7 separate regions of the Homo sapiens genome follow, and all the other regions are linked to region 7. Evidence: promoter capture Hi-C in 16 types of primary human blood cells and fetal thymus (Javierre and others, 2016). All regions are on one chromosome and are shown on one strand. Each heading gives the region's core, a stretch centred on a gene start or on the middle of the fragment in contact. The rest is flanking DNA. Distances are from core to core; before and after follow the strand shown.

The links. The method cuts DNA at HindIII sites, captures the fragments that hold promoters and counts their contacts. A CHiCAGO score of 5 or more calls a contact.
Region 1: the fragment with the promoter of CTDNEP1 here is called in contact with the fragment with the promoter of TP53 in region 7 in 5 of 17 cell types (fetal thymus, total CD4 T cells, activated CD4 T cells and 2 more); the score reaches 7.6 in fetal thymus.
Region 2: a contact is called between the fragment with the promoter of VAMP2 here and the fragment with the promoter of TP53 in region 7, in 3 of 17 cell types (fetal thymus, naive CD4 T cells and non-activated CD4 T cells). The highest score is 10.3, in fetal thymus.
Region 3: the fragment with the promoter of BORCS6 here is called in contact with the fragment with the promoter of TP53 in region 7 in 1 of 17 cell types (fetal thymus); the score reaches 6.6 in fetal thymus.
Region 4: a fragment that was not itself captured here is called in contact with the fragment with the promoter of TP53 in region 7 in 2 of 17 cell types (fetal thymus and non-activated CD4 T cells); the score reaches 5.9 in fetal thymus.
Region 5: the fragment with the promoter of DVL2 here is called in contact with the fragment with the promoter of TP53 in region 7 in 4 of 17 cell types (fetal thymus, non-activated CD4 T cells, activated CD4 T cells and 1 more); the score reaches 9.4 in fetal thymus.
Region 6: the fragment with the promoter of HES7 here is called in contact with the fragment with the promoter of TP53 in region 7 in 1 of 17 cell types (naive CD4 T cells); the score reaches 6.6 in naive CD4 T cells.

What each region holds. Positions count from the first base shown.
Region 1 is chr17:7,249,703-7,252,983 of GRCh38, reverse strand. CTDNEP1 (CTD nuclear envelope phosphatase 1) reads left to right here and starts at 1,250. Exons shown (of 8, transcript NM_001143775.2): 1 at 1,250-1,789. The coding sequence starts at 1,688. ELP5 (elongator acetyltransferase complex subunit 5) reads right to left here and starts at 769. Exons shown (of 8, transcript NM_203414.3): 1 at 388-769; 2 at 154-214; 3 at 1-66. The coding sequence starts at 433. RefSeq lists silencers at 113-352, 1,123-1,332, 1,403-1,522 and enhancers at 383-602, 471-1,059, 1,060-1,647. The HindIII fragment of the contact is 9,547 bases long and covers 1-3,281 here.
Region 2 is chr17:8,161,389-8,164,719 of GRCh38, reverse strand. VAMP2 (vesicle associated membrane protein 2) reads left to right here and starts at 1,772. Exons shown (of 5, transcript NM_014232.3): 1 at 1,772-1,842; 2 at 2,351-2,471; 3 at 2,954-3,112; 4 at 3,196-3,247. The coding sequence starts at 1,841. RefSeq lists silencers at 1,405-1,464, 1,595-1,694, 1,855-2,044, 2,335-2,444 and an enhancer at 2,555-2,604. The HindIII fragment of the contact is 9,788 bases long and covers 1-3,331 here.
Region 3 is chr17:8,188,007-8,191,485 of GRCh38, reverse strand. BORCS6 (BLOC-1 related complex subunit 6) reads left to right here and starts at 1,306. Exons shown (of 1, transcript NM_017622.3): 1 at 1,306-3,141. The coding sequence starts at 1,346. The coding sequence ends at 2,419. LOC124903913 (a long non-coding RNA gene) reads left to right here. Exons shown (of 2, transcript XR_007065604.1): 2 at 1-211. RefSeq lists enhancers at 847-1,492, 1,235-1,514, 1,493-2,139, 3,278-3,327 and silencers at 1,625-1,674, 1,875-1,934, 2,005-2,054. The HindIII fragment of the contact is 3,696 bases long and covers 215-3,479 here.
Region 4 is chr17:7,204,609-7,208,072 of GRCh38, reverse strand. The region is part of intron 2 of DLG4 (discs large MAGUK scaffold protein 4); the gene reads left to right. Among named protein-coding and RNA genes, the nearest start is that of DLG4, 11 kb to the left of the region's middle. RefSeq lists an enhancer at 2,854-2,903. The HindIII fragment of the contact is 8,126 bases long and covers 1-3,464 here.
Region 5 is chr17:7,232,668-7,235,909 of GRCh38, reverse strand. DVL2 (dishevelled segment polarity protein 2) reads left to right here and starts at 1,393. Exons shown (of 15, transcript NM_004422.3): 1 at 1,393-1,841. The coding sequence starts at 1,648. It overlaps PHF23 (PHD finger protein 23), which reads left to right. Exons shown (of 5, transcript NM_024297.3): 5 at 70-872. The coding sequence ends at 284. RefSeq lists an enhancer at 1,196-1,245 and a silencer at 1,356-1,655. The HindIII fragment of the contact is 14,867 bases long and covers 1-3,242 here.
Region 6 is chr17:8,122,309-8,125,636 of GRCh38, reverse strand. HES7 (hes family bHLH transcription factor 7) reads left to right here and starts at 1,531. Exons shown (of 4, transcript NM_001165967.2): 1 at 1,531-1,594; 2 at 2,511-2,606; 3 at 3,207-3,294. The coding sequence starts at 1,553. RefSeq lists a silencer at 1-12 and an enhancer at 1,153-1,673. The HindIII fragment of the contact is 4,110 bases long and covers 1-2,640 here.
Region 7 is chr17:7,685,882-7,688,956 of GRCh38, reverse strand. TP53 (tumor protein p53) reads left to right here and starts at 1,467. Exons shown (of 11, transcript NM_000546.6): 1 at 1,467-1,580. WRAP53 (WD repeat containing antisense to TP53) reads right to left here and starts at 480. Exons shown (of 11, transcript NM_001143992.2): 1 at 396-480; 2 at 1-309. The coding sequence starts at 308. RefSeq lists enhancers at 529-578, 1,377-2,576, 2,537-2,586, 2,050-2,597, 2,617-2,746 and a silencer at 3,047-3,075. The HindIII fragment of the contact is 572 bases long and covers 1,150-1,721 here.

The sequences.
Region 1 (3,281 bases), core at 1-2,500, 440 kb after region 7:
GAGTCAAAACCTTCACGAAACTCTTCCTCGCTCACTTCACAGCCCAGGATATGCACTTGCTCCCCACTAAGGCAGAGATGAGAAGGGATTGTCAAAGAGTGGGCACAGGTGCCCTATCCAGGGTAGGCCGGGGAGACACTGTGGGATACTCACCACAGTGCAGATTTCTTGACAAGCGCCTTCAAGAGACTGCGCCCCTCCCACTCCACGGAATCTGCAGAGCGAGGGACGGATAAAGGGTATGAGAGCGCTGGGATTACCGCCTTCGCGAACCCGTCGCGATTTCCACACCTAGCCTGTGACCCCTGGCCCTTCCTGCCCACTTCCGTCCCCTCAGCCAGGCCCGAACCGCACCCCCCGCCCCGCCACCGTGCCTCTGGCTCTCACCCCGAAGCAGCACCAGGCCGCCCAAGGCCAACAGCGAGTCCAACATCTCCAACTCGCGTCCGGTCCCTGCTCTGGCGCCCTCTGATGGCGTCATGACCCAGTGTCCTTCCTCCTCGGGGTGAAACGGGCCGAGCACTCGGGCGTCCTCCCACCATTAAGACCTAACATAGTCTGGAATGAGAGGTGATTATGTTCAATATTCCCAGGGGGGCGCTCACGCGGAGGGCGCCCCTCCCCGAGCCCTGGCGCACAGTCGTACGGACAACGACCCCGTCTACATTTTCACTGTGACCGGGGCGGGAAGAGCAGTTGGGGCAGTTGTCAGTGGGAGGGGGAGGAGGACCCACAAGCCCCCCGCGAGGGCCCTAAGCGCGGGCCAAGTGACGTCACTCTCCCCGCCCACGCAGTTTGAGGCGGGGCCTGCTTCGCCTCAGGCCCCGCCCCGCGGCCACCTTCTGCGCGTGCGCAATACTGCAGCCTCGCTTGGAGTGCTTTTGGCTTTCCTTATACCTACCCGCCATAGACCGCGCAGGAGGAACTTAGTCCCGGTGAAGCGAATACACGTCACCACCGGAAGTAGTGTCAAAGGGGAAGAGGAGGGGGAAAGACAGGAAGAGGGAGTCCTTTGGACGGTAAAATGGCGCCTGTCAGAGTGGGAAACCCAGCTGCAGAGGCTGCAGCCCCGGTCCCCAGCGGCTAAAGGACCCCCGAGCTCGGGGAGGGGGAGGCCGCTCCGGCCCAGCGCTCTGCGCCCTCCGGCTCCCCCTCCCCCTCCTTCCCTGCTCCTTCGCTCTGCAGGCCCGTTCTCCGCTGCCGCGGCCCTTTGCGCGCCGCTGCCCCCGCCCTCCCCGTTCCTGCGAGCAGCCCCCTAGCGCGCCTGCGCAGCGGGCCACTCTCTGCTTTCCCCCCCTCCCCTTCCCTTTTCCCTTCCTCCCTTTTCCCTAGCCCCCTCCCCCACTGCCCCCTCCCCCAATTATCCTTCCCCTTCCCTCCAGGTCTCGGAGGACCCCATCCTAGCCCTACCTGTCTCGGCCCGCAACCTCCCCGAAGCCGTCGGTGCCACTCCCAGCCCATGTGGGCCCCCGCGGGCTGCCCACGCCTGTCCCCCAGCTCCCCGTTCCGCTGGGCTTTACCCTCGCCAGGGGTGGCTTTCTGAGCCGCCCGCTCCGTGCCCCTCTCTGCAGCCTCTCCTGCCACTCGGGGCCCCCGTTCCCCCTCCCGGCGGCGGGGGGCTGCCCCCGGGGGGCTGGCGGAGCTGGGCCGCGGGGGCCCCGGGGCCGGCGGTGCCGGGGTCATCGGGATGATGCGGACGCAGTGTCTGCTGGGGCTGCGCACGTTCGTGGCCTTCGCCGCCAAGCTCTGGAGCTTCTTCATTTACCTTCTGCGGAGGCAGATCCGCACGGTGAGCCAGGGTGGGCGCTGGCGGTGTTGGGGACGTCTGGCGGTGTTGGGGACATCTGTCCGTGGTGCTCAGGGGTTTTCGGAGTGTCGGGCCTCTGTTTGGGCCTAGGAAGGGAATCCTGGCTGGGGCTTTTCTCGCCAGAGAATTGGGCACCCTAAGCGGGGCGAGGTGGGAGACCCTTGTAATAGAACCTTGCCCTTGGGGGTTTTGATGGGGCTAGATGGGACAGGATTTGGCAACTCTTGGGGGCTAAGGTGGTGGGTGGGGCGCTCTTTAAGAAAGCTGGAGTTGTTGCTAAAGAAACCAAGAGGCGGGGAACACCTGTTTGATGACAGCCGGATCTGTGGATGTGGGCTTGGGAAAGACCCTATTTGGAACCTCGGTGTGTGTTTGGTCCTATAACAAGGAAGAGACAGACTTGTGTGTCAAGGGTGGAGGTGGGTGGGAGGGCATACGTTACAAACAAGGACGGGAACTTGGGAAAGCCCTGGGTGTGAAGGAGAAACGCCTGCGGTTCCCATTAAGAGAATTCCTCCAAAAAGGCTGTGAAAATTTATTTCATAGTGTGAGTGTAGGTATCTGGATTTATTGAAGACTAAAGCAGATGCTTTTACGATGGGCCTCTTTAATTGTGGGAGGGAGTTCAAGGTGGGTGCTGTGCCCACCATTGAAGTTTGGGTGTCCCTGTCAGAGGACAGCGCTGGGCAGTTGTAGGGCTTGAAAATGAGGACGTTTGCTTCTCCAGGAGAGCCTAGCATTCTGAGGGAAACTGTCCGGATGGACCCAAGCATCTCTGGGTCCCCTCTCCCTTAGCTTTTCTCCAAGGTCAGAGGTCCTTCAGCTAACAGCACTTTAAATGAATGTGCTCTTGTGGTCTCACCACCACCAGGGAGAATCCTCGGAAGGAGTCTGGGGAGAATTTAGTAAGCGGAGACACAGGTTCTGGGTCTGTACTGTGGTCTGTACCCCTTAGCATACCTCAATACAATTTGAAAGAATAAACCCAGGTTGGGGTGACCTGGGGTCCAGAGAATTTCCAGAAAGCCCTCAGTGGTAGTGGTGGTTGATTTAACTGATTTGGGAGAATGGGTCTGGCCTTGGGTTCATTCTGTCCTTTACCAGTCTGCTTCCACTTCCTGATTTAGGGCGCGAACAGTACAGGATGGTTGTGGCTGTAGGCAGCAGCGCTATTCCCCCGAGACAAGAGCTAGGAGCCAAGAAAAATTTAGGGTCAGAGATGCTGGGATATGTGTGGGGCTATCTCCTGGGGTTTTCTTTTCTTTTCTGAGACAGTCTCGCTTTGTCGCCCAGGCTGGAGTGCAGTGGTGCCATCTCCGCTCACTGCAACCTCCACTTCCTGGGTTCAAGCGATTCTCCTGCTTCAGCCTCTCGAATAGCTGGGATTACAGGCACCTGCCACCACACCTGGCTAATTTTTGTAATTTTAGTAGAAACGGGTTTTCACCATGTTGGCCAGGATGGTCTCAAACTC
Region 2 (3,331 bases), core at 523-3,022, 480 kb before region 7:
AAAAGCAGGAGCCAGCATCTCACAGCATGATCTGAGACCCCCGTGGAAGCTGCTCTTTTCTTTCTCATCACATAGGCTGAGCCACCCGGGACTGTCAGTGCACAAGGACCAGGGACGCGGCTGCTCCTCTGAGGGGGAGGAAGCCAAGAGTATCTTCTCTTAGATTGGGCTGAGTTCCCACACCCAGCACACACATTCCCTGCTCACTCACCTCCCACAGACAGCTGGGAAATGACACCTCTGGTGACAGAGCCACTCTCCGGGCTTCTGTGGGGAGCGGGTGGGGCACTGCAGTGGGGGAGGATCTCACACCCGGAGGCCCTGGGAAGCCAGGGTGGGGGAGGGAGGAAGCTGGTTCCTGTTTGTCTTAGAGATCAAGGCCATCAGCCTCCCTGCACCTTCCAGGGATGTAGTAAGCACCCCCACCCCAGGGCCAAAGGGCCTCGCCTAAAATGCCTCCTGCACCCTTGAGGCTTGCTTTGACCCCCTGCACTCCACCAGAGCGACAGCTCCCCTGGTCCCATCTTCTCTGACAAGCTGGGTGGGAGTGTATACAGCTGCTGGGTGTGCTTAGAGGGCCTAATGGAGACCAGCCAGGGATAATCTCCTATGTTATCCACATCAAGCCATTTAACAAATATGGATTTAGTACCTACATATGCAATGTATTTGGGGTCCAGAGAGAGGAGGGCAACGGTCCAAGGTCACACCTGCGAGGCGAATACGCATGTAAAGCAGCACCTTGTAACCTGTGCCCACTGTGCCTACTACTAAAGAAAAAAAAATGAGAGAAAAAGAAAAAAGGCTTTTTTTTTTTTTTTGGCCCAGGCCCTGTGCCTGGGACCAAAGCCTGAGCCCTTTCCTGCAGTCGGGTCGCTGACCTAAGCCTGGGGCAAAGCTAGGTCTTGGCCAGTCAGCAGCCACCACGTGAAGCAGCCCCTGCCCCCATCACCCCCGGCAGCCTTGTGCCCTCCTCCTCGGGGTCCTCAGCTCACCCCACCTCAGTCGGGCCTGCTCCAGCGGTTAAGTACCCCTAGTCTGAACCTTAATCGTGAGGCGGGGCAGCCCCCTCCCCACACCCTGTAGACACTCCCCCGTCCTCCGCCCCCTGGACTTGTTTGGGCGGGAAGAGCCTGCCTCATCTTTTCTTCCTACCCTCCTACCCAGTGGCCAGGGACCCCAGGCTTCCTCTGAGACATCCACCAGCGGTGATGGGTTGGGACCAATCTCCCCCACTCCTCTCCACCCTAGCAGTAAGGTCCCCGCTCTCGATACTGCCCCAGCACCTGCACTGGCCCTCTCTGATTTCCCAACTCCAGCCCATTCCAAGTGCTGAAGGCGGGTCGCTAGGTGCTGGGACCTGGGCGCGGGGCAAGACCTTGGGCTGTGTGGGGTGCAGGCTGGTTTACTGGGTTCACGATTGAGGGAGTGGTCTGGGGGTTAGGTGTAGGGCCAGGCTGCGTTGTGCTCTAAGGGGCAGGCGGCAGGCGGTTTGGGGGGGCTGTGGTCAGACAGGGTGGGGTGGCGGTGGGTTTGGGGAAGCCGCAGCAGCCCGCCTTGGGGTCCCGCGAGTGCCGAGGGAGCTGCCGGGGCATGGTGGCGCGGGGCCCGTGGTCCTGCCCGGCACGACCCCCGCCCCGCAGCGCCCCGCAGCGCCCCGCCCCCGCGGCCCCGCTCGCGACGCGTCTCCCGCGGCGCCCCGCCCCCGCCCGCAGTGCCCGGATGCGGGTGACGCGCGGCCGCCATCTTTCCGTCCCGGGCAGCCAGCGCCAGTCGGAGCCAGCGCGAGCCGCCGCCGCCATCACTGCCGCTGCCAAGTCCTCCACCCGCTGCCCCCGCCATGTGAGTCGGCCGCCCGCCACCCTCACCGCGCTTCCCTGCGCCGGCCGCCGCCCTTGGCAACCGGCCGTCGGGAGTGCCCGGGGTCTCTCCTGCGTTCCCCGCGCCCCGGGGCCAGGCCCAAGCCGGTGACTGCGCGCGGGCGGCCGAGGAGCCCCGCGTCCCGGGCTGGCCGGCTCGGGCGATGGCCGCGGGAAGGAGCGGACCCAGTGTCCTCCTGCCCCTCCCCGCCCCTGTCACCGCGGCCGCCTGTCTTTTCGGGTCGACCCGGATCGCATCTGTGAGGTCGCCCTCAGTTGACAGGCGGGGAAACTGAGGCCGGGGGGGCCTCGCTCAAGGTCACGCAGCTCATCGGCGGCAGGGCTGGACCGAGACCAGGGCTTACATCGGGTGGCCTTCCTCCCGAAAAGGAGGACTGGAGGGACGAGGATGGACAGGTGGATGGGCGGAGCCCTGGCTGCGGGGCCGGGAGGCTGCAGGCCCTGGGTCTTAATCCGTCCCTGCTCCTCAGGTCTGCTACCGCTGCCACGGCCCCCCCTGCTGCCCCGGCTGGGGAGGGTGGTCCCCCTGCACCCCCTCCAAACCTCACCAGTAACAGGAGACTGCAGCAGACCCAGGCCCAGGTGGATGAGGTGAGTGTGGGGGGAGTCAAAAGCAGTAGGAGGGACCCTGGGGGTTGGCGTATAGGTGTAGGGGCCCATGTTGGTTTGGGAGTGATGACAGTTCACGCCTGTGGGTTTGCGGACAAAGATACCATGCCCCATCCCTGTCTCCCTGTCAGCACGCACTTGGAAGGGCGCTGGGGGTGTTAATCAGCTTTGCTAGCCTGGGGTGTGCCAGCCTGGGCAGGTGTGCTCTGGTGATGGACAGAGCGCCTGAGGTTCCATAGAGGGAGGGTGTTGCTATGACATCTGAGATGTCACCAGCATGCCCCTGATGTGTGCTCCTTGCATGTCCCCAGGTGTGCTAGGCATGTTCTGTGTGTCCTTGGCATGTTAACCTGGCAGTATCAGGGTGCATGTTCCATGTGTGGCACGGTGGGCACATGTTTGAGGATTGCCCTCACTGAGGTGGGCCTTGGCACACCCCCCTGCCTCGTGGGCCCTTCTCCCAGGTGGTGGACATCATGAGGGTGAACGTGGACAAGGTCCTGGAGCGAGACCAGAAGCTGTCGGAGCTGGACGACCGTGCAGATGCACTCCAGGCGGGGGCCTCCCAGTTTGAAACAAGCGCAGCCAAGCTCAAGCGCAAATACTGGTGGAAAAACCTCAAGGTAAGGGTGGGGACAGGAAGGAGGACAGGTGGGTGAATGGGGTATCATAGTTTGTCTTACTGATCCTCGCCTCTCACCCCCAGATGATGATCATCTTGGGAGTGATTTGCGCCATCATCCTCATCATCATCATAGGTGAGTAGGGTGAGAATGGCCGGGGCCCTTTCCCTGGAGAGGTTTCCCCAGTGGATTCTAGGTTTTGAAGGTCATTAATCTAGT
Region 3 (3,479 bases), core at 57-2,556, 500 kb before region 7:
GCCGGGCGTGGTGGCGGGCGCTTGTAATCCCAGCTACCCGGGAGACTGAGTTAGGAGAATCGCGTGAACCCAGGAGGCGGAGGTTGCAGTGAGCCGAGATCGCGCCACTGCACTCCAGCCTGGGTGACGGAGTGGGACTCTGTCTCTAAATACATAAATAAATAAATAAATAAATAAATAAATAAATAAATAAAAATACTGATGTCTCCAAGCTTTGGCTATGTGTTGCAATGTACAACCTTTCCAATGTCGCTGCACCATTGCATTTAGAGGAAATCTCCATTCCCTAACAGGAACTACAAGGCCCCCTGCATGACGTGGCCCCTGCTGCCTGTTCAGCTCCTTGGCTCGAAATCCTTCCCCTTATCTTGCTGATTTTGTTTTAGTCCCAATGTCTCCTGCCCCCTCACCTCAGTTTCTTGAATACGTCAAGACTTCTTTGTCTCTGAGAGGTAGCTCAAGTTTTCTTCTCTCTGCCTGGGGGGTGGCTGCGTCTTTTTGGTTCTTTTTAGTTAAAAGTCTCACCAAAGAGGTATTTTCCTGACCCCTTACCTAAACTAGTGCCTGCTCAGTTATATTCTCAATCATAACACTTTATTTCCTGTATAGCACATATCAAAATTTGTGATCATTTCATTTGTTGAATATTTTACCTCGTGGCAAAATCACACGCCATCCTCCAAGGGGCGAGACCCCTCAGTGTGAAAGGGGCAAGAGACACAGAACAAGAGTGACAAACGCATAGGAAAGCCCAGAGGCCGCTGCCTTGACCACAGTGGGTCGCTCTGAGCAGTTCAGTGGTTAGGTCTCTTAACCAAGAAAGATAGAGCAAACCATTCATGCTCATGCTGGACTTCTGGTTTCCTTCTTTTTAGTCAACTAGGTTCAACCCTGATGGTCCAAGAAGGATATGCCATTTTCATCCTAAGAACCTCTCTAGGAACCCCAAGTGGGCTCCCCACTTGGTATTTTTGCTAAGCAATCACTGTTGGGGGGGGTACAATTACAGGCAGAAAGGATCTGAGCCCCACCCCTCGGGACTCAGGAATTTGAGGACCTTGGTCTTTAAGATCTGCCCCATCAGCTTTCAGAAAGGGCGGGGCGACGGGAGCAGCTGTCACCTCCTTCTCTCCACCCTGCCGGCGTTCACGTGTGTTCCGCTGTGCAGTAACAGCTCTTCTTCCGGGACTTCCTGGTCGCCGCGACCAATCAAAATGCTTTTCCTGTCCTTACCATTGTCAGCCGCTGCCAATCGGCTCGCCTCTACCAACGCCCCTTAAAGGCGCAGCCACTGCCTCCGGAGCCGGGGCGAACCAATTCCTCCGTTGCGGCCCCCACCTGCAGTATGGAGTCGTCTCGGGGGCGGCCCGGGCCCGAGACGGACCTTCTGGCTGTAGCGGAACATCAGGCCCTAGTCTTTGGCGGCGGGCCGGGCCGAACGTCCTCTGAGCCGCCCGCAGGCCTCCGGGTGTCCGGGGAGGAAGAGACCGAGAACGTTGGGGGCGCGAACCGCCACCCCAGGACGTCCCCGAAGACGTCAAGCTGCGGCGTCGTCCACCGGCCGGAACGGGAGGCTCTGGAGAACGAGCCCGGCCCTCAAGGGACGCTGTCTGGGGCCGGGAGCCGCAGGGGGGCGCCGGGTGCAGAGCACGAACCTTCCCTGTCCTCCCGGCACAAGAACCCGGCGCCGCCCGAGGGCAAGCCCTCCTCCGGGAGGGACTGCCGTCGAGGGGGACCAGGCGGCGGGATGGATGTTGAGCAGCAGGAGGAGGAAGACAACGACGAGGAGGCGGCCGCGGGCAGCAGAGCCGGCCGCTCGTTCTCCAGCCGTCTTCAGGACAGCCGCAGCCTGGACGGGCTGAGCGAGGCGTGCGGTGGCGCCGGGTCCTCAGGGAGTGCCGAGTCCGGCGCGGGCGGCGGACGCCGCGCCACCATCTCCAGTCCCCTGGAGCTCGAAGGCACAGTGAGCCGCCACGGCGACCTTACCCACTTTGTCGCCAACAACCTGCAACTCAAGATCCGTCTGAGCGGCGCGCCTCCACCCCCGCCTTCTGCCCCTGCGCGGCCCTGCCCAGCGCCTGCACCCACACCCACACCGGCCATTCCCCCAATCGACCCCGAGGTGCTGCGGGATCTGGAGCGGTTGAGTCGGGAGCTGGGAGGCCGGGTGGACCGTCTGCTTCGCGGTCTGGGTGGCGCGGTGCAGGAGCTGACGGCGCTGAGCGTGGGTTGCATCCAGACCTACCGCGATGCTGTGGACTCCTTAGGTGAAGCCGTGGACATGAGCATCAAGGGCATGTACACCCTGCTGGCGCGCTGCGAGGAGCTGGAGCGGGCTCTGCAGCCGGTTCAGGGGCTGGCGCGCCAAGTCCGGGATATCCGACGTACTCTGGAGGTGTTGGAGGCCCTGTGCAAGTGACCAGGAGGACAGGAGAGGCCGGTCCTGGCCAGGGCAGGGCCCAGCAGGACCCTAAGGACTCTTCAGGGAGTCCTGGTGGGAAGTGCCCACTGAGGGGAGGCCTGTGTGTTGGAGGCTCTTCCAGATGCGTTCAGCTGGCCCGTGCCCACTCGCTGGGCCTTAGGCTGGTGTATGTGGGGAAGTTCTAACGGCTCTCCTGGTGGGAAGGGATGTTGCTCTGCTTGTATTCAGTTGGCCATCTGTAGCTACCCTGTTCTTCCCAACTCTCCTCCCTAGCTAGAGCACCAGCCCTGGGAACACGGGGCTTTAGGTCTGCTTGAAGGTGAGGACGTGACTCCCACATGTAATCAGGAGAAAGGGACAGAGGAAGCCCCAGCCCCCACTGTGGCTATCCTGACTCCAGTGGCCACATCTCAGGTGCCAGGGGCTGTGGGAGCTTGTGCCGTCCTTGGCCAAACACCCCGCAGGCAAAGATGCACCCCTGCTGATGGAGAGCCTTCTGCTTCTGCCCTCTGGCCCTCTACCATACCACTTCCCCAGCCAGAACCGGCGTGCAGCTAGGAGGAATGGGTTGCACGGCGGAGGGGGTGAGGTGGGAGGCGTCTCACTGCTCTCAGGGTTCAGGTAGAATGTTGCTGGTTTTGAAGCTCACCTGTTGTGGAGTGTTCTAATCAGTTTTGGCTTTCTGAGTTTTTGTGGAATTAAAGTGCTGCTGCTGCGAAGGCTGAGGCTGAGTCTGTGTGGGGTTGCAGTGATTAATAAGCCAAAGGAATGGGAATGAGGGTCGGTGTTGTTCACGCAGCTCCCTTGGGGCTGGTGCTGGGAGTGGGGTGGGGGTGGAGATGTCTCAGGCTCCGTGGGGAAAGATATGGTTCTTGCTCTTAAGCATCTGGTCTGAGGGGAAATGTGAGGACACAGATAATCACTCACAGGGGCCCAGAGATCCGGTAACCACAGAAACGTAAAAAAGATGCTCTAGAAGAGAAGGGGAAGAAATTGTCTTCTCAGGTCCTCATGAATAGGCAGGGGCTGGGTGGATTGGACGGACATCTTACCTCTG
Region 4 (3,464 bases), core at 737-3,236, 480 kb after region 7:
AGGAGACCCTGGTGGCCCCCTCCCCAGTGCGGCCCTCGGAGCCTCGGAGCTGCAGCAATCCCTAAGGGCCGGTAGGGTGAGAGAGAGCCGTGGGGAGGGGGATGCTGGGACTGGGGGCGGGGGTTTGGGGCTTGGGCTCCTGGGGTCTGGGGGAGGGGGCGTTTGTGGGGCTGGAAACACCTTGGTCCCACAGAGGAGAAACAGGCCAGGCCAATGGGAGTGGATGTAAAGCCTAAAGCAAGAATGTGTGTGTGCGCGCGTGCCTGTGCGCGTGTGCTGTGTGTGTGCCTGTGCGTGTGTGCATGCATGCGTGCCTGTGTGTGTGCTGTGTGTGTGTGTGCGTGCGTGCGCCGTTTGTGTGCCTGTGCGTGTGCTGTATGCGTGTGTGTTGAGGTGTGTGCATCCCCCAAGAGGCCCCCACGCCTGGGACCTCTTCATTCCTTCACACCCCCAACCTCCATTTCCATTTTCTGTGTCCAGAGCTCTGTTCCAAGCGCCTGCTGCCCTCATTTGCTCTTGTCCCTTCCCCGCCTCCTCCCCCTACCTCCGCCTCTGGGCCTGGCTCGCCCTGTCCCCAAGTCTCCAGCTCTTTCCATCTGTCTGGCCTGAGACTTCACATGGTGGGGCCTTGCTGCCTCGTCCCCTGCCCCAGCTTTGCTCCACTCCTGAGTTCTCTTCCCCCTCTGCAGCCTTTCCTCCCTGCTGGCTGGCTGGCTGGCTGGCTCTTGATGCTGTCTCTCTCTTCCTCCCACGCATTCTCCTCTCCCTCTCCCTGATCCCCAGCCCAGGCCGCTGGGGCCTGATCAGTCCTTTCCCTCATCAGTCCTCTCCCTCCATCAGCCAGCTCCCCTTTCCCATGTTCCCTCTTGCCTATTCATCTTCACCTTCCCTCTTTTCCTCCTCCCCTCTCTCATCCTCTTGGGTTCTCACCTCTGCCATATCTTCTTTCTATCCCCCTCTGCCCCCTCCATCATCCCCCACCACCTGTTTCCCTTTCTCCTCTCTGCTCACAGCGTCCTCCTCTCTCCAGTCCCGGGAGGCCTGGTTTCTGGGACCTTCCATTCTCCAGTCCACTTTCCATCTTCCCCTTCCTCCATCTCCTCTTCTGGGGACACAGGATGGGGAGGACTGGAGAGCACCAGGCAAGCTGTGAGATTGAGGGGACACTGTGGGGTCAGGGTGGGGATTCTAGGATGTTGTGGGATGCTCTGGGAAGGGGGAGGTTGCTGACATTTCACCAAGAAGATGGGGAGGAGGTCTCTGAGCCTAGGGAGCGGGCAAGCAGGTTCTGGAGTTAGAACTGGCAAGAGAGGAGTTGGGGGATAGGAAGGGTAAGAGGTCCTGGGTCAGGGGCCAGATAGGGATAAGACTGTGAGATCAGGGCAGTGAATGAGGCTGACAGAGCAAGGAAAGGAAGGCCCTGGAGACAGGGATGGTACAGAGTGTTTGTGCGAATTCTGTGGATGCTAGGAGTGAGGGAAAGAAGACTAGAGATGCTTTGTGCAAGGCAGGGCCATTAAATCCCTGAGCAGGGGGAAGAGGAGGTAGGGAGCCTGAGGGGTGGTAGTTAGTACAGAGCTGCTGCTGATCAGAGCTCAGGAGCAGAAGGGGGTGGAGGGAGAGAGTGTTGGAGGCCATAAGCATGGGGTGGAGGTCTCAGGACAAGGCCTCACCTGGGGAACAGGAGAAGCCCCAATTTTCAGAAGAGAGGGGAGTTGATTGAGAAGTGTAAGATTGTTACTTGAGAATAATCTTGAGGGTATGAAGGTAGGGTAAGGGAGAATGGTGATAAACTCTCTGGGGAATCAGAAATTGAGATGGAGTAGCTGGGTGGGGTGGCATGTGCCTGTAGCTACTCAGGAGGCTGAGGTGGGAGGACTGCTTGAGCCCAGGAGTTCAAGGCCGCAGTGAGCTATGATCACACCACTGCACTCCAGCCTGGGTGACACAGCGAGACCTTGTCTCTGGAAAAAAAGAAATTGGGATGGAGGATGAGGCCACATTGGTAAGGGATGGGGCTGGAGGGTGCGACAGGGCCAGGGAAGCGGATGGAGAATGGAGGCTGGGGTTGGAAGATGGATGTTGAAGGGCGAGACAGGGATGGAGATGGAGCATGTGGGATGCGGGCAGAGATAGGGATGGGAAGCAAATGAATGTCGTAGTGGATGAAGGTGGGTGTGCTGGGAAGGAGGTTCCAGGATAGGGATGGGGATGGGGATTGAGGATGGGCTATGGGATGGAGGACGGGCTATGGGATGGAGGACGGGCTGCGGGATGGGGGACGGGCTGCGGGATGGGGGACGGGCTGCGGGATGGGGGACGGGCTGCGGGATGGGGGACGGGCTGTGGGATGGGGGACGGGCTGTGGGATGGGGGATGAACACGTGGATGAGATTTTGGCAGTCAGTGACTGTTGGTTGGACAACAGCATTTGCTGATATGTGAAGGGTTGGAGGGTGGTGTTAATAGATTTATGGGTGTGAAATCTGTGATACAGCTTGAAAATGGTCGGTAGTTTGTAGGCTTGAGAAATAGCAGTAGGAGAGGGGAGGGACCCCTTTGGACGGGGAGAGCGGGAAGGAGACTGGGGAATCCTTGCGCTTGGGCGACTGCAAATACATGTTTCTTTAAGGAGGAAGTAGGTTGGGGACCCCGGAAGGAGGCTCTTGGCGGCCTCCCCCCATTGCCATAGAGACGTGGCTTCGGTTGCCCTGGCAATTGGGGAAGCCCCTAGGACCGGGCTAAAGCGGGCCCCGCCTGGGAGTCTAGAGACCAGGCGATTGACGTCAGGGACCTGGGCACGCCCCACTTTAACCCTTTCCCGAATGAAGTGGGGGGAGGGAGTAGATGAGCGGGATAGGACCCGGATGTCTTTCACCACTCCCAGTTCCTGACGTCCTTTGCACTGCGTAGGGTGAGGGGCGTAGGGGAGCGAGGAAGGCAGGTTATTCAGGATGCGCTGCGCCCACAAACCTCTTCAGCCCGGCCTCCTCTCGGCCTGGCTAACGTGGGGCGGGGCCCAGGGCAGGAGAGGCGGGGCTAGCGGATCCCTTCTGCGCTCAGGAGTTTGGTCGGCCCCAGGCCACGCCCCACCCCCCTGTTGTCCTGACGACAGGGCCTCCTGGAGGTGGGTCTCCCCGGGTCTTGACTGGTCCTAGATACCGTTGCTAGGCAACACGGTCCTTAGAGGAAGGGGTGGATTGGACGGCTGGTTGGTGAGACCGAGGGAGGGGCCTGCAGCTGGGGAACCCCGGATTCCCGGGGTGCAGGGTTTAGGGCAAATGTCTGTGAAAGTGAGGGGCAAGTCTAGGGGAGGGTTATGAAAATATCTGGGTAGATATGGGGGGTTGGGGGGATGGGGCAGGAAATGGGGACCAGGACCCGGTGGACATGATCCCTGGGGTGTCCATGTGTAGCACATAAGGCATGTAACACCCTGTGGTGTTACATCCGGTGAGAAGCTC
Region 5 (3,242 bases), core at 144-2,643, 450 kb after region 7:
CGAGGGGTTTGAGGGTGTTGTGGATCCAACAGCTCAGGCAGAATACCAAACAAACCTTTTTTTCCCCAGGTGATGACTCATGGGATCTGATCACATGTTACTGTCGAAAGCCCTTTGCAGGGCGGCCCATGATTGAGTGCAGCCTGTGTGGGACGTGGATCCACCTCTCCTGTGCTAAGATTAAGAAGACCAACGTCCCCGACTTCTTTTATTGCCAGAAATGCAAGGAACTGAGGCCAGAGGCCCGGCGGTTAGGGGGGCCTCCCAAATCTGGAGAGCCCTGATGGCACCAACTTTAGCCTGGAACTTCCAAATGACAACATGATTTGGGAACTGAGCCTCAGGGTCCTCAGCCTATCCCCTGGAGCTTGGATACTGTCTGCACTTCAAGGCAGGAATTCTCAAGGGAGACTTGTTTGAAAATGAGTGTCTCACTTTCCCACCCTATCCTTCCTCCCCACTCTGTGGACTTGAAATTGAATCCATTACGGTTGGGGATGGGAGGCTGTCTGTGTCCCGACACATAATCTCTGTCTCTTGGACCTGCCACCATCACTTTCTGGGTCAGGATTGGAATTGGGATGGAATGGGACAGTTGTCTATAAAACTCTAGTGTAAATATTAGCACTCCCCTCCCTCATCTTTTCTTCTATTTCACTCCCCATTTATTTTCTTCTACACCGGTTGTATTTTTAATTTTGGACTTCCCCTATTGGGCATGGCAGCTCAAAGGTGGAGTACTAGAGCCTGGCCAAGTGAGGAAGGAAAGCAGAAAGGTGACGATTCTCACTCACCTCTTTTGTTTTTAATAATATCGGCCGCTGTTTGTACAGACAGCCTGCGTGTTGTAAATAAAGCAGAGTGGGCTCTTTTGTGTTTATAGCCCTCACTGTCCTGCTCGGGAGGGAGGCTTTGGTGGCTGAAGACTAGCTGGAGGTGGGGCTGAAACCCACGTCTCAAAGTCCAATCTGAAGATATCACAGCACTGGGCCTTTCCCACCCCAAGACAAGTAAGCCACCTTAGAGCTTTCATTGTATTTGGCCCTCCCCACTCGAGTCTAGGAACCCCCACAGTCCCCACCTTCACTCCCTGCACGCACACTCCTGCGGGTCAGAGTTGCTTCGTGCTCCATCGTGGGTGGGGTAAAGCGGGGTGGGAGCCGATGGTCCGTTTCCTGAAGGCACAGGCCAGCTTAGCCTGGGTGCTCAGAGGACCTCGGCTGGGGTACACGTTTGGGGGCTGGGAGACCGTTGCTGAAGGCAGCGATCATGTGGCGGGGGCACTAGGCGGAGTCAGACGGTCACGTGATTGGGAGGGGATCACGTGACGGAGGGCGGCTGAGGAGCGCGGGGTGGCTGCCTTTAAGTCACGTGACATGAGGAGAGGTGGGCGGGTACCTGGAGGAAGCTCGCGGCGTCGGTGGCGGTGGCGCGCGGCGGCCGCTGAGACCGGGGCTTTGAGTCGCACCCCGCGGCCCGCCCCCCGCCGCCACCCTCGCAGATCCGTGCTTTTTCCCCTTTGCTTCTCTCCCGTACTGGGTCAGTCCTGTCCGCGCTCGCGCGTCGGTTTGCGGGTGTGCGCAGGCGCGGCAGGGGCCATTAGCCCTTTGGGTGGGCGGTGGAGCCCGGGAGCGCGCGGGCGAGACCATGGCGGGTAGCAGCACTGGGGGCGGTGGGGTTGGGGAGACGAAGGTGATTTACCACCTGGATGAGGAAGAGACTCCCTACCTGGTGAAGATCCCTGTCCCCGCCGAGCGCATCACCCTCGGCGATTTCAAGAGCGTCCTGCAGCGGCCCGCGGGCGCCAAGTACTTTTTCAAGTCTATGGATCAGGATTTCGGGTGAGCGCAAGGCCTAGATAGGACCGGCGGGGGCTTTGCTAGAGTGGATTGGGCGACATGGAGGGGCACACGTCTACTTTGGGCCACACTGGGATTTTCTGGCCTATGGTGGAGCAGATTGTACTATGCTGAGGTAGGTTGACTATCCCAGGATGGACAAGGTTATGCTTGGATAGATTGAGGCACACGGACAGACTAGGATATCCTAAACCAGATTAGACAAGATTAGGCTTTACTGGAATAGGTGGGGGCATACTGGTTTATGTTGGAGTATTCTAGTCTGTACTGAGTAAATTGATCCATTGTCTGGTTGTTTAGTACGTTCTCAGGAGTCCTGTAACGCCTGTAATCCCAGCACTTTGGGAGGCTGAGGCGGGCGGATCACGAGGTCAGGAGATCGAGGCCATCCTGGCTAACACGGTGAAACCCCATCTCTACTAACTAAAAATACAAAAAATTAGCCGGGCGTGGGGGCACGCGCCTGTAGTCCCAGCTACTTGGGTGGCTGAAGCAGGGAGAATCTCTTGAACCTGGGAGGCGGAGGTTGCAGTGAGCCGAGATCGCGCCACTGCACTCCAGCCTGGGCGACAGTGCGAGACTCCGTCTCAGAAAAAAAACAAAAAACACTTGGGCCATTATGGACTCTACTGGGTTGTATTGGTTAATCCTGGTTTCTCTTGGGGCAAGACTTGGTTTTATTGGAGCACTCGGTATAGGGGCAGACAAGGCTGTTGGGGCCTGTGCTAGCACAGGCAGCCGTATTGGGATGTTCCAATCTAGACTGGTGCAGACAGCTGCGTGTGGGGGCATTGTAGGCTGTGCTAGAATAGATTGGGCTATCCTAGGGTAATTTGGGACATTCAGGGCTATCTTGGACTAGATTGGCGTGTAAATAATGCAGAGAAAGCCCTTTTGTGTTTATGGTCTTTGGGGCTGAGCCTTCTGGGTCCTCAACCTCTGCTTTTTTTTTTTTTTTTTTTTGAGACAGTCTCGCTCTGTCGCCCAGGCTGGAGTGCAGTGGCGCATTCTCAGCTCACTGCAAGCTCTGCCTCCCGGGTCCACGCCATTCTCCTGCCTCAGCCTCCCAAGTAGCTGGGACTACAGGCGTCCGCCACCACACCCGGCTAATTTTTTGTATTTTTTAGTAGAGACGGGGTTTCACCGTTTTAGCCAGACTGGTCTCTGACTTCTGACCTCGTGATTCGCCCGCCTCAGCCTCCCAAAGTGCTGGGATTACAGGCGTGAGCCACCGCGCCCGGCCCAACCTCTGCTTTTTTGAAGGCAGGCTGGATTAAGTTGGGATAGCATGGGTTTTAGAAGAACTGAACAAACTGGACTCTAGCTAGAAAGATTGTTTGACATGGGGATGCTGATACTATCTTGGGAGTTATCTTGGCTTTA
Region 6 (3,328 bases), core at 282-2,781, 440 kb before region 7:
TGGAGCGCCAAGTCATCCTTCCTCTCGTCCGGATCCGGCCACCGGGCCATAAAGCCGCCCCATATGGCCAGGGGCGGCCCCACACCCGGGTGCGAACAGCCGGGGGCCCCCAGCCTCGCGTGCAGGTGAGAAAAATTCAGCCCGAGCCCAGGTTCCCAAGGAGGGGGGCGGCGGGGGCTGATGGGGACACACATTTGCGTTCCCATTTGGCTGAAGGACGGAGAGGTGGGATGTGCTGGGGGCCCTGATCCCAAATGGGAGCCCCCTCCTCAAGGTCTGTGCCTCTCCCGGCTCGGGCTATGATGGCAAGAAAGGCTTCGTGACAAAACCAAGGTGCGGAGGGCCGTTGGGAGGGCTTGAAGGAAACCCCATTGGTCTCTGATTTCACAGCTGTCTTCCGTCTCGGTCTGCAACCCTGTCTTTCCGTGTCTTTATCCCTGGCAACCTGGCTGTTCCCTTCAGTTTCTGATTTATCTTCTCAGACACTTTGTCCTGAAGCCCTCGAGTGGTCAGGCATCGTTCTGCGGAGGGTCATGCTCTTGGTTTGAGGTGGGTGTTGATCCCTTTTTTGTACCCCTTGCTTTCCCCTTAGTAAACTGCCTGCTCCCTGCTACCCTACAGTCACCAGGGGCCTCCAGAAGCAAGCAATGCGGGCACACTTGCGTGAGGTGTCCTATCAGCCACACTCCTGAATCTCCTATGACTAGTTTTGAATCAAATACTTGTACTGTAAGTGGAAAGACCTCTCCACTCATACCTATGTTTCAAAGACTTGCTCCCTCTGCCTTGAAGATCCTCCTCAGTCCAGCCATCCTTAAGGAGACCTTTTCCCGGAGCACCTACTTCACTGGGCTTCTGTAATAGCTACTTGGTGTCACATGGTCTTTTCCATTAGATCCTGCAGGGATAAGCTGGGTCTCTCCTGCGTATCTCACTATGACTCGCCCGAGCCTAGACAAGTGCCCTGTCCGCAGAGTGGGCGCGCAGATGTTCGCGGACTTGAATGTAACTGGCTTAGATAGAAGAGAGCGCCTCTCCAACCTCCCGGCAGAGCTTCGGTTGAGTCGGACAGATTCACCCAGCGCACTCGGGTTGCTCCCTGTCTCGACTAGGAAGCGAACTTCGGAGATGATGTATAAAATTCAGCCTGGGGGCTGAGAGGTGCTAACTTCTATTTCAGGGTTAGTGAGGGTACAGTAAGCCTCCCAGAAAGCTGCAATTCTGGAGGAACTCTGAATTTCATCCCCAAGCGAGCTCTGCCCCAATAGCCTCCTCCTTTCAGCTGGGTCCCGCCTCCTTATACAGCCTTACGGTCTGTAAACCAGCCAGTGCCCCCATTCACCCCTCACTTCCCGCACTCCCAGGCCAGTTTCTCTCCTTCCCCTCCCCCCTTCACTCCTCCTCTTTCCGGGAGCCTCGTGCCGGGTCCTAGAGGGGCAGAATCTGGATGTCGAAGGGGGCGGGGTCGGGTCCTATCCCTCCTACCCTTGGGCCGCGGAATATAAGGCTCCAGGCGAGCAGGGAACCGGTCCACACAGGGTCCGGAGGAGCAATGGTCACCCGGGATCGAGCTGAGAATAGGGACGGCCCCAAGGTGAGAGGCGGGAGGGGAGGGAGCAGAGGTCCCTGGTTTGGCTAGGGGACTGGGCCCCTGACGCCGTCGGTCTGGAGAGAGGCTGGGGACGCAGGGGTGGAAGGGGAGCGGTGCTCCAGAACTCCAGGAGCCAGAAGCTGGAGAGGAAGCTGCAAAATATGAAGAAGGGGACAGGGGTCAGAGCCAGACCTGAGTGGGCGGCGGGAACATAGGACTAGGGGCCTCGGTAATGGGTGTCGGCACCTTGTGGCCTGGGGAGGGGGCCGGTGTTGGAGTAAAATAAGCAATTAGAGGGCAGAGCCAAGGGAGGAGGGTGGGAACGAAAAGAGAAGAGGATAGGCACTTGCTCCACTCTGGCTGTGAGCCGGGCGGGGCTGGCCCAAGGCGGTCTTGTACAGAAGGTCCCGGGGCGTTGGTTCCAGAGGCCCCAGACTGGTGGAAGATTTTAGGAGAACCGTGGAGAAGGTGAAGGCCTGGAGGGTTTTGAGGGAAAAGAGGCGGCGCGGTCGCGCTAGGTATCTCCCTTTCTATACTCAGGGCCGCCAGGTCTGAGCCCGGCACCGTGCGGCGCACGTGCGTGCGCGCAGAGAGTCCCCAAAGTTCTCCACTGAGACAAAGAGAAACTGCACCAGACGGAGACGTAGAGAGAAAAGAGGAGGAGAGACACAGAGAGGGGAGGAGGGAGGACGAGACTGAGAGAGGAGAATGCGAAGATCCGGGGAGGCGAGCTACAGAAACTGATCTAGGGGCATTGGGAGGGGGAGCGGAGAGGGATCGAATGGGGCCGGCCCTAGGCAATCTGGGGTCTTGTGGCCGGGGTGGAAGCCGGGCTCTCCCAGCGGCGGGATCCGACGCCGGGGCGGCCGCACTGAGTCTCGGTCTGGTCGGCCCGCTCTCCTTTTCTCGCTGGTCGCAGATGCTCAAGCCGCTTGTGGAGAAGCGGCGCCGGGACCGCATCAACCGCAGCCTGGAAGAGCTGAGGCTGCTGCTGCTGGAGCGGACCCGGGACCAGGTCAGTCCCTCCGCTAGCCCTAGGTCCCCAAGCTTCCCGTTTCCGCGTCCCAGGGCTTCCCACTGGGGTGGGGACACAAGCTTGGTTGGCAACCCTGGCCCCAAGGCATCCTCACCCGAGTCCCGCCTTTGGAATTCCATCCCAGACCCCCACTCGCTCTCAGAACGCGATCTTCTTCGCCACCCCTCGGGTCTGTAAGTTTCACGCCTGGTTCTGTAAATTTCGCTCCCGGGGTCGGTCAGTTTCACCCTTTGGGTCTCTAAGTGTCCGGTTCCCCCTCCCCCACAGCCAGCCTCTGATGAGCCAGCCTCTGTTATGTCGGGTGGTTAATTTCATTCCCTGGGTTGCGGTTTCAAATCTCCTCCTCACGCGTTGGGCATTGGTTCCAACCCCTAGGATTGGACAGTTTCGTCTCAGGGTGGGCCAGGACTTTCCTTGGTCATCTCCACTCCGCATTTGGTCGCGCGTTCTGTGGGCAGTGCGCAAATGCGATCGGGGGCACCACCAGCTCCCGCATCCGTCCCTCCCTTCTTCCCCCTGCCACTTTCCCCCTTTCTCCCCACCCCTTTCTGTCTCTGCGCCCTCCCCTCCCGTCTGTAGAACCTCCGGAACCCGAAGCTGGAGAAAGCGGAGATATTGGAGTTCGCCGTGGGCTACTTGAGGGAGCGAAGCCGGGTGGAGCCCCCGGGTACAGCGCGGGGGTGGGGCAGCGGAGGGAGGGA
Region 7 (3,075 bases), core at 218-2,717:
CTTGTATTTTCAGAAAGTTCTTGCTCCTCGATTCGAGGACTCAACTCACTAGGGGAACCAAACTCTGTTTCCAGGGGAGTGGAGAGAGAAACTGGGTCCCCCTCCCGTAGCTCCTGGGACACAGCTGAGCCAGCCACAGGATCTGGGGACAACCGGGGCGGATCCCCCCTTTCGGGAGGCGGTGGCATCAGTTCAGAGTCCGCATTTTTATTCATCGGGGAAGCGTGGGGAGAAGGATGGGCTGGAGCTGGGTCCTGGTCTGAAGGACAGCAGTCCGGAGCTAACGGTTGAGTCTCCAAAGTCTTCATACTGCAGAGGAAGCACAGCGGAGATTAGCCTCAGCCAGGATGGCTTCGAAGTTCTCAGGGATCCGACGCAGAGCTAAAGAAACCCACCTGTGCTTCCCTCCTCTTCTGGGAGTAGGCAGAAGACTCCCGGGAGGAGAGGCGAACAGCGGACGCCAATTCTTTTGAAAGCACTGTGTTCCTTAGCACCGCGGGTCGCTACGGGCCTCTTGCTGTCGCGGGATTTCGGTCCACCTTCCGATTGGGCCGCCGCATCCCGGATCAGATTTCGCGGGCGACCCACGGAACCCGCGGAGCCGGGACGTGAAAGGTTAGAAGGTTTCCCGTTCCCATCAAGCCCTAGGGCTCCTCGTGGCTGCTGGGAGTTGTAGTCTGAACGCTTCTATCTTGGCGAGAAGCGCCTACGCTCCCCCTACCGAGTCCCGCGGTAATTCTTAAAGCACCTGCACCGCCCCCCCGCCGCCTGCAGAGGGCGCAGCAGGTCTTGCACCTCTTCTGCATCTCATTCTCCAGGCTTCAGACCTGTCTCCCTCATTCAAAAAATATTTATTATCGAGCTCTTACTTGCTACCCAGCACTGATATAGGCACTCAGGAATACAACAATGAATAAGATAGTAGAAAAATTCTATATCCTCATAAGGCTTACGTTTCCATGTACTGAAAGCAATGAACAAATAAATCTTATCAGAGTGATAAGGGTTGTGAAGGAGATTAAATAAGATGGTGTGATATAAAGTATCTGGGAGAAAACGTTAGGGTGTGATATTACGGAAAGCCTTCCTAAAAAATGACATTTTAACTGATGAGAAGAAAGGATCCAGCTGAGAGCAAACGCAAAAGCTTTCTTCCTTCCACCCTTCATATTTGACACAATGCAGGATTCCTCCAAAATGATTTCCACCAATTCTGCCCTCACAGCTCTGGCTTGCAGAATTTTCCACCCCAAAATGTTAGTATCTACGGCACCAGGTCGGCGAGAATCCTGACTCTGCACCCTCCTCCCCAACTCCATTTCCTTTGCTTCCTCCGGCAGGCGGATTACTTGCCCTTACTTGTCATGGCGACTGTCCAGCTTTGTGCCAGGAGCCTCGCAGGGGTTGATGGGATTGGGGTTTTCCCCTCCCATGTGCTCAAGACTGGCGCTAAAAGTTTTGAGCTTCTCAAAAGTCTAGAGCCACCGTCCAGGGAGCAGGTAGCTGCTGGGCTCCGGGGACACTTTGCGTTCGGGCTGGGAGCGTGCTTTCCACGACGGTGACACGCTTCCCTGGATTGGGTAAGCTCCTGACTGAACTTGATGAGTCCTCTCTGAGTCACGGGCTCTCGGCTCCGTGTATTTTCAGCTCGGGAAAATCGCTGGGGCTGGGGGTGGGGCAGTGGGGACTTAGCGAGTTTGGGGGTGAGTGGGATGGAAGCTTGGCTAGAGGGATCATCATAGGAGTTGCATTGTTGGGAGACCTGGGTGTAGATGATGGGGATGTTAGGACCATCCGAACTCAAAGTTGAACGCCTAGGCAGAGGAGTGGAGCTTTGGGGAACCTTGAGCCGGCCTAAAGCGTACTTCTTTGCACATCCACCCGGTGCTGGGCGTAGGGAATCCCTGAAATAAAAGATGCACAAAGCATTGAGGTCTGAGACTTTTGGATCTCGAAACATTGAGAACTCATAGCTGTATATTTTAGAGCCCATGGCATCCTAGTGAAAACTGGGGCTCCATTCCGAAATGATCATTTGGGGGTGATCCGGGGAGCCCAAGCTGCTAAGGTCCCACAACTTCCGGACCTTTGTCCTTCCTGGAGCGATCTTTCCAGGCAGCCCCCGGCTCCGCTAGATGGAGAAAATCCAATTGAAGGCTGTCAGTCGTGGAAGTGAGAAGTGCTAAACCAGGGGTTTGCCCGCCAGGCCGAGGAGGACCGTCGCAATCTGAGAGGCCCGGCAGCCCTGTTATTGTTTGGCTCCACATTTACATTTCTGCCTCTTGCAGCAGCATTTCCGGTTTCTTTTTGCCGGAGCAGCTCACTATTCACCCGATGAGAGGGGAGGAGAGAGAGAGAAAATGTCCTTTAGGCCGGTTCCTCTTACTTGGCAGAGGGAGGCTGCTATTCTCCGCCTGCATTTCTTTTTCTGGATTACTTAGTTATGGCCTTTGCAAAGGCAGGGGTATTTGTTTTGATGCAAACCTCAATCCCTCCCCTTCTTTGAATGGTGTGCCCCACCCCGCGGGTCGCCTGCAACCTAGGCGGACGCTACCATGGCGTGAGACAGGGAGGGAAAGAAGTGTGCAGAAGGCAAGCCCGGAGGTATTTTCAAGAATGAGTATATCTCATCTTCCCGGAGGAAAAAAAAAAAGAATGGGTACGTCTGAGAATCAAATTTTGAAAGAGTGCAATGATGGGTCGTTTGATAATTTGTCGGAAAAACAATCTACCTGTTATCTAGCTTTGGGCTAGGCCATTCCAGTTCCAGACGCAGGCTGAACGTCGTGAAGCGGAAGGGGCGGGCCCGCAGGCGTCCGTGTGGTCCTCCGTGCAGCCCTCCGGCCCGAGCCGGTTCTTCCTGGTAGGAGGCGGAACTCGAATTCATTTCTCCCGCTGCCCCATCTCTTAGCTCGCGGTTGTTTCATTCCGCAGTTTCTTCCCATGCACCTGCCGCGTACCGGCCACTTTGTGCCGTACTTACGTCATCTTTTTCCTAAATCGAGGTGGCATTTACACACAGCGCCAGTGCACACAGCAAGTGCACAGGAAGATGAGTTTTGGCCCCTAACCGCT